2 separate regions of the Homo sapiens genome follow, and region 1 is linked to region 2. The links are contacts of gene promoters, found by promoter capture Hi-C in blood cells and fetal thymus (Javierre and others, 2016). All regions are on one chromosome and are shown on one strand. Each heading gives the region's core, a stretch centred on a gene start or on the middle of the fragment in contact. The rest is flanking DNA. Distances are from core to core; before and after follow the strand shown.

The links. Contacts are between HindIII fragments. The CHiCAGO score rates a contact against its expected background, and 5 or more counts as called.
Region 1: a fragment that was not itself captured here is called in contact with the fragment with the promoter of DIP2A in region 2 in 2 of 17 cell types (total CD8 T cells and non-activated CD4 T cells); the score reaches 6.3 in total CD8 T cells.

The regions. Positions count from the first base shown.
Region 1 is chr21:46,617,779-46,621,779 of GRCh38, forward strand. No RefSeq gene overlaps it. Among named protein-coding and RNA genes, the nearest start is that of S100B, 15 kb to the left of the region's middle. The HindIII fragment of the contact is 788 bases long and covers 857-1,644 here.
Region 2 is chr21:46,455,068-46,461,560 of GRCh38, forward strand. It overlaps DIP2A (disco interacting protein 2 homolog A), which reads left to right and starts at 3,824. Exons shown (of 38, transcript NM_015151.4): 1 at 3,824-4,155. The coding sequence starts at 4,065. LOC124905046 (a long non-coding RNA gene) reads right to left here and starts at 3,646. Exons shown (of 2, transcript XR_007067915.1): 1 at 3,260-3,646; 2 at 1-851. RefSeq lists enhancers at 3,038-3,177, 4,948-5,017 and silencers at 3,418-3,967, 4,158-4,227. The HindIII fragment of the contact is 4,653 bases long and covers 3,004-6,493 here.

The DNA of each region.
Region 1 (4,001 bases), core at 1-2,500, 160 kb after region 2:
ATCTATCTATCTATCTATCTATCTATCTATCTATCTATCATCTATCTATCTATCTATGTAAAGTTAGTTAACAGTTAGTTACCAGTAAAATAGCCTCGAGCAGGTCCTTTGGGACATATTCTAGAACAAGGTGCCGTTATCATAGAGAATGACAGCTCCATATGTCTCATTGTCCTTGAAGACCTTCCAGGGGGAAAAGATGTGATGTAGAGGTGGAAGACAGTGATATTGATGGTTCTGACCTGTGTAGGCTTAGGCTAATGTGTTTGTGTTTCAGTTAAAAAAAGAGTTTAAAAAGTAAAAAATTTAAAAATTGTTAAAAATGGAAACAAGCTTATAGATTAAAGATATAAAGAAAGAAAATATTTTTGTATAGCTATACGATGTGTTTGTATTTTAAGCTAAGTGTTATTACAAATGAGTCAATGAGAAAAAAAGTTTATAAAGTAAATAAGTTATGGTAAGCTAAGTTTAATTTATTATTGAAGAAAGAATAATTTTGTTTTGTTTTTGTTTTTGTGACAGAGTCTTGCTCAGTTGCCCAGGCTGGAGTGCAGTGGTGCAATCTTGGCTCACTACAACCTCCACCTCCCAAATTCAAGCGATTCTCCTGCCTCAGCCTCCCAAGCAGCTGGGATTACAAGCATGCGCAACCAAACCTGGCTAATTTTTGTATTTTTAGTAGAGACGGGGTTTGACCATGTTGGCCAGTCTGGTCTCGAACTCCTGACCTCAAGTGATCCACCCACCTCGGCCTCCCAAAGTGCTGAGATTACAGACTTAAACCACCATGCCCGGCAAGGATATTTTAAATATTTTAAAATAAATTTAATGTATGACTGGCTGCAGAGGCTTAAGCTTCTAATCCTAGCACCTTGGGAGGCCGAGGCAGGAAGATTGCTTGAGTTCAGAACAGCCTGGAGTTCAAGAACAGCCTGGGCAATGCAGCGAGACCTTGTCTCTAAAATAAATAAATAAATAAATTTAGCACAGCTTAAGTGTACAGTGCTTATAAGCCTACAGTAGAGTACAGTGGTGCTTATAAGTCTGCAGTAGAGTACAGTAATGCTTGCAAGCCTACAGTAGAGTACAGAAATGCTTATAAGTCTGCAGTAGAGTACAGTAATGTCCTGGGCATTCACACTCACTCACCACTCAAGCACTAACTCACCCAGAACAACTTCCAGTTCTGCAAACTCTGTTCATCGTAAATGCCTTATATGGGTATATCATTAAAAATCTTTTATATCATATTTTTACTGTACTGTTTCTATGTTTAGACATAAAAATACTTACTATTGTGTTTCATTGCCTACGGTATCCAGTAGTAACATATTGGACAAGTTTGTAACCTAGAAGCAACAGGCTGTATCATACAGCCTAGGTATATAGCAGGCTGTACCAGCTAGGTTTGTGTAACTGCACTGTATGATGTTTGCGTAAGGACAAAATTGCCTAATGAAACATTTCTCAGTATGTATCCCCATCATTAAGTGATATATGACTCTATTTCATTCCATCTTCTTCTCGCTTGCATAGTTTTTCAGGAGAAGTTAGATGTAATTTTTATCTTGCTTCTCTATGGTAACGTGTTTATTTTCTCTGGTTTCTTTTGAGATTTTTCCTTTAACTATGATTTTGTGAAGCTTGAATGTGATATGCCTAGTTTTGGGGGAAGGGCATTTATCCTATTTGTGTTCTCTGAGCTTCCTGGAGCTGTGATTTGGTGTCTCACATTAATCTTGGGGAAATTCTCAGTCATTATTGCTTCACATATTGCTTCTGTTCCTTTCTCTCTTTCTTCTTTTATTCTCATTATGTGTATGTTACACCTTTCGCAGCTATCCCATAGTTCTAGGATATTATGTTCTGCTTTTCCCGCTCAGCTTTTATTCTCTTTGTTTTTTAGTTTTGGAAGTTTTTATTGTCATGTTCTCCAGCTCTCAGAGATTTTTTCCTCGGCCATGAGTCTACCGATGACTCCATCAAAGGGATTCTTCCTTTCTGTTACAATGGTTTTAAAACTCTAGCATTTATTTTTGATTATTTCTTAGAATTTCCATCTTTCTGCTTTTGTTGCCCATCCACTCTTGCATGCCATCTGCTTTTTCTGTTAAATCCCTTAACATATTACTCATAGCTTTTCAAAATTCCTGGTTTGATAATTTCAGCATTCCTGCCATATCTGACTCTGCTTGTGATGCTTTTTTAGGCTCTTCAAACTAGTTTTTGTCTTTTAGTGTGCCTTGTCATGTTTTTTGAAGGCTGGAAATGAAATCTGGCTAGAAGGAACTGCTGTAAAAAGACCTTTAGTGATGCGGTGGTAGGTGCGGGGGAGGGAAAGCATTCTACAGTCCTATGAGTAGGTCTAGGTCTGTGGTGACTCTGCCCCCTTGAATTGTGACCTTCACAAGTGCTCCCCCATCCTGTGAGTGGAACAGGATGGCTGTAGGGGGCTGAAATTGTGTATTTCCCTTCACCTGCATGAAAGTCCAGAGCCACCTGGAGTAGGTAGGTCAGGCTCTGATGTAACCCAGCCAGTTTGGCTCCTGAGGACAGGCATTGTTAAGAACAGAATGCCCTATCTCAAGATGTTTTCTTTTTTCTTCCCCCTGCTGAAGCACAAGGGGATCTTTCTCCAATATCCACTGTGAGGACCTGGTCGAGCTCCTGGAGGTAAAATTCACAAAAGTGTAGGGGCCCTCAGGACGGGGGTCCCCCTGGAGGTTTTTGTCCCTCAGACTTGCCACACTGAGCCTCCAGCAATTTTTCGGGTTTTCCTACCCTGGCACTGGAGGTTTCTGCTGGAGATAAGTTGTGATTCTCTCTCCCCACCTGTCTGTCTCTCCAATGTTGGGAACAATAGTTTGTCTTGTGACCTCACTTCTCTACTGGATCTAAGAGGGGCTGTTAATTTTTCAGTTTGTTCAGCTTTTTACTTGCTGTTAGGATGGAGCAAAGATTTCTTAGCTCCTTACATGTTGAACTGGAAACCAAAAATGAGTAGTTACTTTCTGAAGATATAAAATCCCCAGAGTAATATAATAAGACATCACAAATGTCACTAGTCCACCTGTAAAATAATGTGTACTACTTCTTCCTCCCAATAATAAAAAAGCTTGAGGAGACAACAAGGGTGCCAACAGGCAGCTGGTTGCTGGAGGGCGATCACCACGGTGTTTCCCAGGAGAGTGAGACCATGCACTCTTTGGCTTGGGAAGAAGGGTGCCATTGTGAGCAACGCTGCCATGACTCTGCGAATGCCCAGGACATTACTGTACTAGCCAAGAGCTATCACTTGACTCGTGGTCATGGCGTTGTGGAGAGCTGCCTGGCATTGCAGCCTGTGAAACTGTGGAGGTAATTGGGAGGGGGTGATGGAGGCTCAAGGCCCATGGTGTCTAGTCTACCGCACCTTGAATGCCAAAGGCACCCATGTGGTTCACCCTCTGTCTACTCTGCAGATGGAGGGAAATGAGATGATGTAGCTCCAGGTTCCCAGACGACAACCTGCCATGACAGGAAGGGGCTCTCCTTCCCAAGCAACAGTGCTGCCTGCCCAGGCCAGAGCACGAAGGAGCTTGTGGGTCAACAGGGGCCTCTATTTGAATATATCAATCTTCTGTTAAGATCTTCTTCAGTCACTTGGATGTCCCTTCTCCCTTCATCCATTCAGCAAACTCTTGGCTCCAATCAACTAGGCAGCCAGCCCCGGGCCTTGCTGGGGCTGGTCAGGGGGTGGGAAGGGGTCATTCCAGAAAGGCCTGGGCAGCAACATTGTTTTCTCCCACAAAGGACGGTGCCATCCGCCACCAAGCCACTCACGAGGCTGACTCCAGTGACCGATGGCCACAGGCAGAAAAGGAGGCTTGTGTTCTAAAGGAATGTGAGGAAGAGACAAAAAGCTTCTGTTGTAGCAAATGCAAGTATTGATGCAATGAGAACTCACTGCCTTTCCTGTTCTAAAGAATGCCACTCCCAGCCAGCAGGCAGCCATGGGG
Region 2 (6,493 bases), core at 2,574-5,073:
GGCTGCCACTCAGACCCTGCTGGCTGCTATAATTGCAATCCTCTGACTTCTGCCAGCTAAGTGTTGCCTTTGGCTTCTTGGGTTTTTTTCTTTGGTCCCCACTATGTCCCAGAATGGCCTCTTTTGTCTTAGGATCCTATCATCCCCAGTGCTATCACCCAGCCAAGTTCTGGAACAGCCTTTCTATTGTCATTCTTGCCTACAGAGATGAGCCATCACTGAATATTTTAGTGACATCAGTGCCCCTTTCATCATCCTATGTCTAATGATCTTTATAAATGACGTGTTATTTACACCTTCATGTGGAATATGATCGTCTCAAATGTCTTCTAGATGCACGGAGTATATAAATTTCAACATGCCCACACCCCTGAACCTTTTACTCCCTTCCACCACTGTCTGCCATAGCAATTTTGCCATTTCAATTTTGCTTACCATGGCCCATGGCTTTTTCCAAGTGTGGTGTTTTAAAAATATACTGGCAAATTTTTTGATATTCTTCCCTTTAGAAGATGAAGCCTAATTCCTCTCCTTTTGAATATGGGTAATTTAGTGACTCATTTCTTCCAAATAGGAAGTAGCCGAAGTGATGGTATGCAACTTCTGAGGCTGGTTCACAAAAAGGATACAGCTTTCTTTTGTCCTTTGTCTTTAGATTGCCCTTGGAATCCAGCCATCATATTGTGAGAAAGCCTCGGCCACAGGGACCGGCCGTGTAGGGGTGTGCTGGCTGACATCCCCAATCTGGGCTGCAGCCAATCTCCAGTATCAGCTGTCAGACATTCGAGCAGATGAACCTTCACTCATTCCAACCTCTAGCCTCTGAACTGCTCCAGCTGAGGCCTCAGACACTGTGGAAGAGAGATAACCAATCCCCACTATGTCTGACCCACAGTAACCTAGAGAGATCACCGATCCCCACTATGTCTGACCCACAGTAACCTAGAGATAAGAAATGATTCTTGTTTTAAGCCACGAAGTGTGGAGTAATTTGTTAGGCAGCAGTAGCTATACCGCCATTCTAGGAGCCATCCTTGCAGGAAGTCTGCAGCCACTCTTTGCCAAGGTGTTAAATCACGTATTTCAATAAACACATCTATGCAAGTTTACATTCCAGCTCCCTTCATCAAGCACCCTCATAATCCAGCCCCAAACTTTCCCAGCTCCTGTCAGTACATGTTGGCTGGGTGGTACAGCTTGTTATGGGCTGAAGTGTGTCCCTCTCAAAAGATGCTGAAGCCCTAACCCCTGGTCAATGTGAATGTGACATTATTTGGAAATGGGTCTTTGTAGACAAGTTAAGATGCGCTCATTAGAGTGGGCCCTAATCAGTATGACTGGTGTCCTTCTAAAAAGAGGCCCATGTCGAATGACCTTTGTCAATGATGTTACTTATGCCTTCGTCTGGAGAGACACACACAACAAGATCACCATGTGAATATAAAGGCAGGACTGGGACAATGCCTCTATAAGCCAAGGAACCAAAGACTGCCAGCAAACCACCAGAAGCTGGGAGAGAGGCATGAGACAGATTCTCCCTCCCAGCCCCAGAAGGAACCAACCCTGTGAAAACTTTGATCTCAGACTTCTAGCCTCCAGAACTGGGAGACAATAAATGTCTGCCCAGTTTGTTACTGAAGCCCCAGCAAACTAATAACGCAGTTCTTCTGAGGGGGAGGGAGCTATATTCTCTTTTCTATCTCATTGTTTCCAGCTGAATAATGCAAAAGAAACAACCATAATTATACATCTACTGAGCAGTAAGTGGAGGGAGGAGGAGTAGTGTCAGGTTAATAGGAGAGGTGAGCCACCCCGGCAGGCTTCAGGTTCAAGGCAGGCCAGGTGTGATGGCTCACTGGAGCCTAGAAGTTTGAGACAAGCCCGGGCAACATAGCAAGACCTTGCCTCTACAAGTAATAAAAAATGTATCCAGGTGTGGTGACACATACCTGTAGTCCCAGTTACTTAGGAGGCTCAGGTGGGAGGATCGTTTGAGCCCAGGAAGTTGAGGCTACAGTGGGCCATGATCCAGCAACTGCACTCCAGCCTGGGCAACAGAGTGAGACACTGTCTACGAAAAAAAGGTTTAAGGCAGTTTGGGGAGTCAAAACCTTTGAAGGCATCTACCCAGGTATCTCCAACCCATGTATGACGGGCTTTTCTTTTCTTTCTTTTTTTTTTTTAAAAGACAGAGTCTCACTCCTGTTGCCCAGGCTGGAGTGCAGTCACAGCTCACTACAGCCCTGACTTCCAGGGCTCAGGTGATCCACCCACCTTAGCCTCCCAAGCAGCTGGGACCACAGCCGTGGCCACCATGCCCGGCTAATTTTTTGTGTTTTCAGTAGAGATGGGGTTTTGTCATGTTGCCCAAGCTGGTCTTGAACTCCTGAACTCAAGCAATCTTCCCGCCTTGGCCTCCCAAAGTGCTGGGATTACAGGTGTGAGCCACTGTGCCCAGCCTCATCTTTTCTTAGCAGGGATCCAAACTTAGTGGAAGAGTATTGCCTTGTTTGGGTGTTTTGCTATTTTTGGAGTTCAGTCAAACAGGGATGTTAATTCCTGGGCCTGGTTCTTGTCTTTGACCTGCTGCAGTAAATGAAGCTTCTCTATATGTAACGGGACAGATTCACTGGCTTACAACTGTTTGTTGCTTGCCTTCAGCTGACCACTATTCTTAAGAGTCTCGGTTGGCACTAAGCAATAGCTATCCAATCCCCCTTTCCTTCCTTTTATCTACTACGTTCACCATATATGAAATGTCTGATACTTCACCCACTCGTGGATTCCATTTCACTAGTTCACCCTCCTACTTCACCACTGGTGAGTGATGCAGCCTCGAATCCCATCTTCTCACCAGCTTTAATGCTGCAGAATGGTTTCTCCAGAAGCAGACGCTGCGACTGAGTTTGGGGTACGAGGATGTTGACATGGTATCAACACCCGTGAAAGGAAGGGGAAGGAAGCAGGACTGGGCGGAGGAAGAAGGGTATGTAAGTCCCGCAAAGCTTTGGCCAACCTCGTGTGGAGCTCTGGAACGAGAACTGCTGAAGTTCGCCAGACTCGGGCACTCCTGCCTAACTCAGTAACAGGCGGGCGGCATCGGGACACGGACACGCTGCTCAGGCCCCGCCACAGCCACCCTCGCACCGTCAGACACACTCCCACACATTCGGGGAGCAGGGCCTTCAGGACGCCGGCGGCGCCCTCTCAGTCTAGCTCCGCCAGGCCCCTCGTCCGTCCTCCCGCCCTCCAAGGTCACCTCGCGGTCCGACATGGCTGCTGGGGCTCCTTCGGGGCCAACGATGTGTACTTCTAGGGCTGTTTTTTAAAGCAAAGGAGTGAACACAGGTAAAGGCACGAGAAAGGTGCCTCGACGCCACCACGGACTGCGCAGCGTTCGCGATCAGCACAGCCCGAAAGGGAAGACAGCGGTCAACGCGGACGCGCCATGGCGCGGGGACCAAGGAGGAGCCCCGAGAGGGGCGGGGCTGGCCGGAGGGCCGCGCGCGGGGCCACCAGCGGCGCCTAGGGGTCAGCGCCAACGCCCACGGGTTGGTCATCCCCACTTAGGCGCCTCGGGCCGCAACTAAGCAGCCTGCCCGCCTCAAGCCCGCCACCCTCAAGCAGGCCCAGCGCAGAGCCTGTCGGGAGCGGCGCTCTCCCGCCTCTCCCAATGGGAGCCCGGAGCGGCATCGACGCGTCTTCGGGGCCAATGGAAGCGAGGCTCTGGTGTTGCTGGGCGGGGCCGGGAGGGCTGCGCGGGCCCGAGACCCACTGCGCACGCGCGCTCGCTACCCGCCCTTCCCGCCGCGCACGCGCTCCCGTGTAGGGCCGGCCGGGCGCTCAGGAGCGCGCGGGGCAGCGGCGGCGCGGCGGAGCCATCCGCGCTCGTGCCCGCGCGGGTGCGTTGCTGTCCTGGCCGCGCCCCTGTCCCGCCGCCTCCCGCTCCTCGCCTGGCGGATGTAGGTTGTTGGCCTGAGGGGAGCTACGTAGCCGAGGTTTGCGCTGCCGCCGCCAGGCCCGGTCCGGTTCCAGCCTCTGCCCGGACGCTAGCCGGCCTGGCCATGGCTGACCGCGGGTGCCCGCTGGAGGCGGCGCCGCTGCCTGCCGAGGTGCGGGAGAGCCTGGCTGAGCTGGAGCTGGAGCTGTCGGAAGGTGAGCCGGACCCCGCCCTCAACCCCCGCGACCCGCCCTCAGCCCGGTCCCCCGCGCAGCCCCTCACTCCGGGACCCCCGCGCGGCCCCTCACTCCAGGACCCCCGCCCTTCACCCCCGGGACCCCCACGCGGCCTCGCCCCTGGGACCTCTGCCCCTCAACGGGACCCCGGTTCCTCTACCCTGGAACCCGCCCCTCGCCCCGGAGACACCGTTCCTCAACCCTAGGACCCCGCCCCTCATGTGGGACCCCAGCACGACCCCTCGCCCCGAGACCCCGGCCCCTTACCCCCGGGAACTCCCGCCCCTCACCCCCGGGACCTCCTGCCCCTCACCCCCGGAACCCCGCGCGGCCCCTCACCCCGGGGACCCCGCCCTTCACCCTGGGAGCCCCGCGCTGCCCCTCCGGACTCCCGACCCTCAGCCCCGGGACACCCGCGCGGCCCCTCAAACCAGGGACCACTGCCCCGCCTCTCATACAAGGACCCCTCCCCCATACAAGGACTCCTCCCCCCAGGCCCTTCACACCTGGGACCCTTACTCCTCACCCCGGGACGCCTGCCAAACTTCTGGAGACCTTTCCCTATCCCCAGCTGCTCCCCCAATGGGATCCGACCCCAAGGACTGGCTTTGACTAGGTCGTTTGGACAGGTGTGAGAATCTTGAGAGGAATGACCACTTTTGCCCCAAGCTGTGAGCCCCGCTTTTCTCAAGGCTGTAGGTCTGGGCTTGGTCTGGGCTTCACCAGGATGACTGCGCCCGTTGTCCGCAGGCAGCTACTTCCCTTGGAGCTGGGAGCCCTTGCCGCGCGCCTCATACTCTAGGAGCTGCACCCTGTGCCTCATTTTATTATCTATAAAGTGGGGTTATACCAGCACTTTCCATTTTGGATTGTTATGAGGCTAAAATACCTTAATATATGCAAAGCACATAACACTTAGGAGTTGTTAGCCCCCTCATGGAATTTTTTAAAGTAAAAAAAAAAAGTCGTATAAATGGTTGGTTGATAAAAATAGACTGGAGTAATCTGGCTTCAGAGGTGGTGGGTGGCATTTCCCATTTGGATGTTATCCCTTTCAAGGCCTGTGTCCTGATATTCCTTTTGGCTGTCTTTGGGAAAGAGTTAAGTTCTTCTCCAGTGTCAGAAAGGACTTGCAGTCCTTGAAGAAAAGCATGTAATTGATTCTTACTCTGTTTTTGAGATCTAAATGCATTTTCAGCTTTTAGAATCCATTTTTTAAATAATCTTATTATCCTTAATTTAAGTTTCAGATTGATAAGATTTTGCTGGGTCTGGGGTAGTTATTTCTCAAAACATCTAAATAATATGCACTAGCATACAGTAAGTCATTTAATCCTTGCCAACCTTAGGGAGGTAGATGCTGTTGTGATCTTGTTTTACATATAATACAACATGTACTTGCAACTATTTTGAATTCAGCATTCAGATTTTTAACAATGTTGTGACATGTGGCACATTTTTTTTTTTTGAGACGGAGTCTTGCTCTGTTGCCCAGGCTGGAGTGCAATGGCGTGATCTCGGCTCACTGCAACCTCTGCCTCCCAGGTAGAAATGATTCTTCTGCCTCAGCCTCCCGAGTAGCTGGGATTACAGGGGCTTGCCACCACGCCCAGCTAATTTTCGTATTTTTAGTAGAGGCAAGGTATCACCATGTTGACCAGGCTGGTCTCAAACTCCTGACCTCAGGTGGTCCGCCTGCCTCGGCCTCCCAAAGTGCTGGGATTACAGGCATGAGCCACCGTGCCTGGCTTGTGGCACATTTTTAAAAATGGAAGTACAGGCTGAGTACACAGTGGCTCATGCTTGTAATCCCAACACTTTGGGAGGCCACGTTGGCTTGGAGACGGGAGTTCAGAACAGCTTGGGTAACATAGCAAGACTCTGTCTCTACAGTATTAAAAAAAATTAGCTGGGCATGGTGGTGTGCACCTGTAGTCCCAGCTACTTGGGAGGCTGAGGCAGGAGGATCACCTGAGCACTGGAGCACTCCAGCCTGGGCAACAGAGCGAGAACCTGTCTCTTCTCACCAAAAAAAAAAAAAAAAAAAAAAGGAAAGAAATGGATGGATTTGAGAATTCTTGGTGATTAGATGCTCCTAGGCAGTCTGACAAACTTAAATTAGGAATGGGTTTGACAGGATCTACTGTACTGCATTTGTTAAGGCTCTTTAGGGAAAATCACATATACGCAGTTTAGATTCTGTGCATTTCAAACATATTTTTGCGTATTGCTCCTAATTTCTGCTCCAATGTATTCATTATTCCCTCAATTTTTTGTGTTGTAGTTGTGTTTGAGTGCTTGCTAGGCATTGACAATT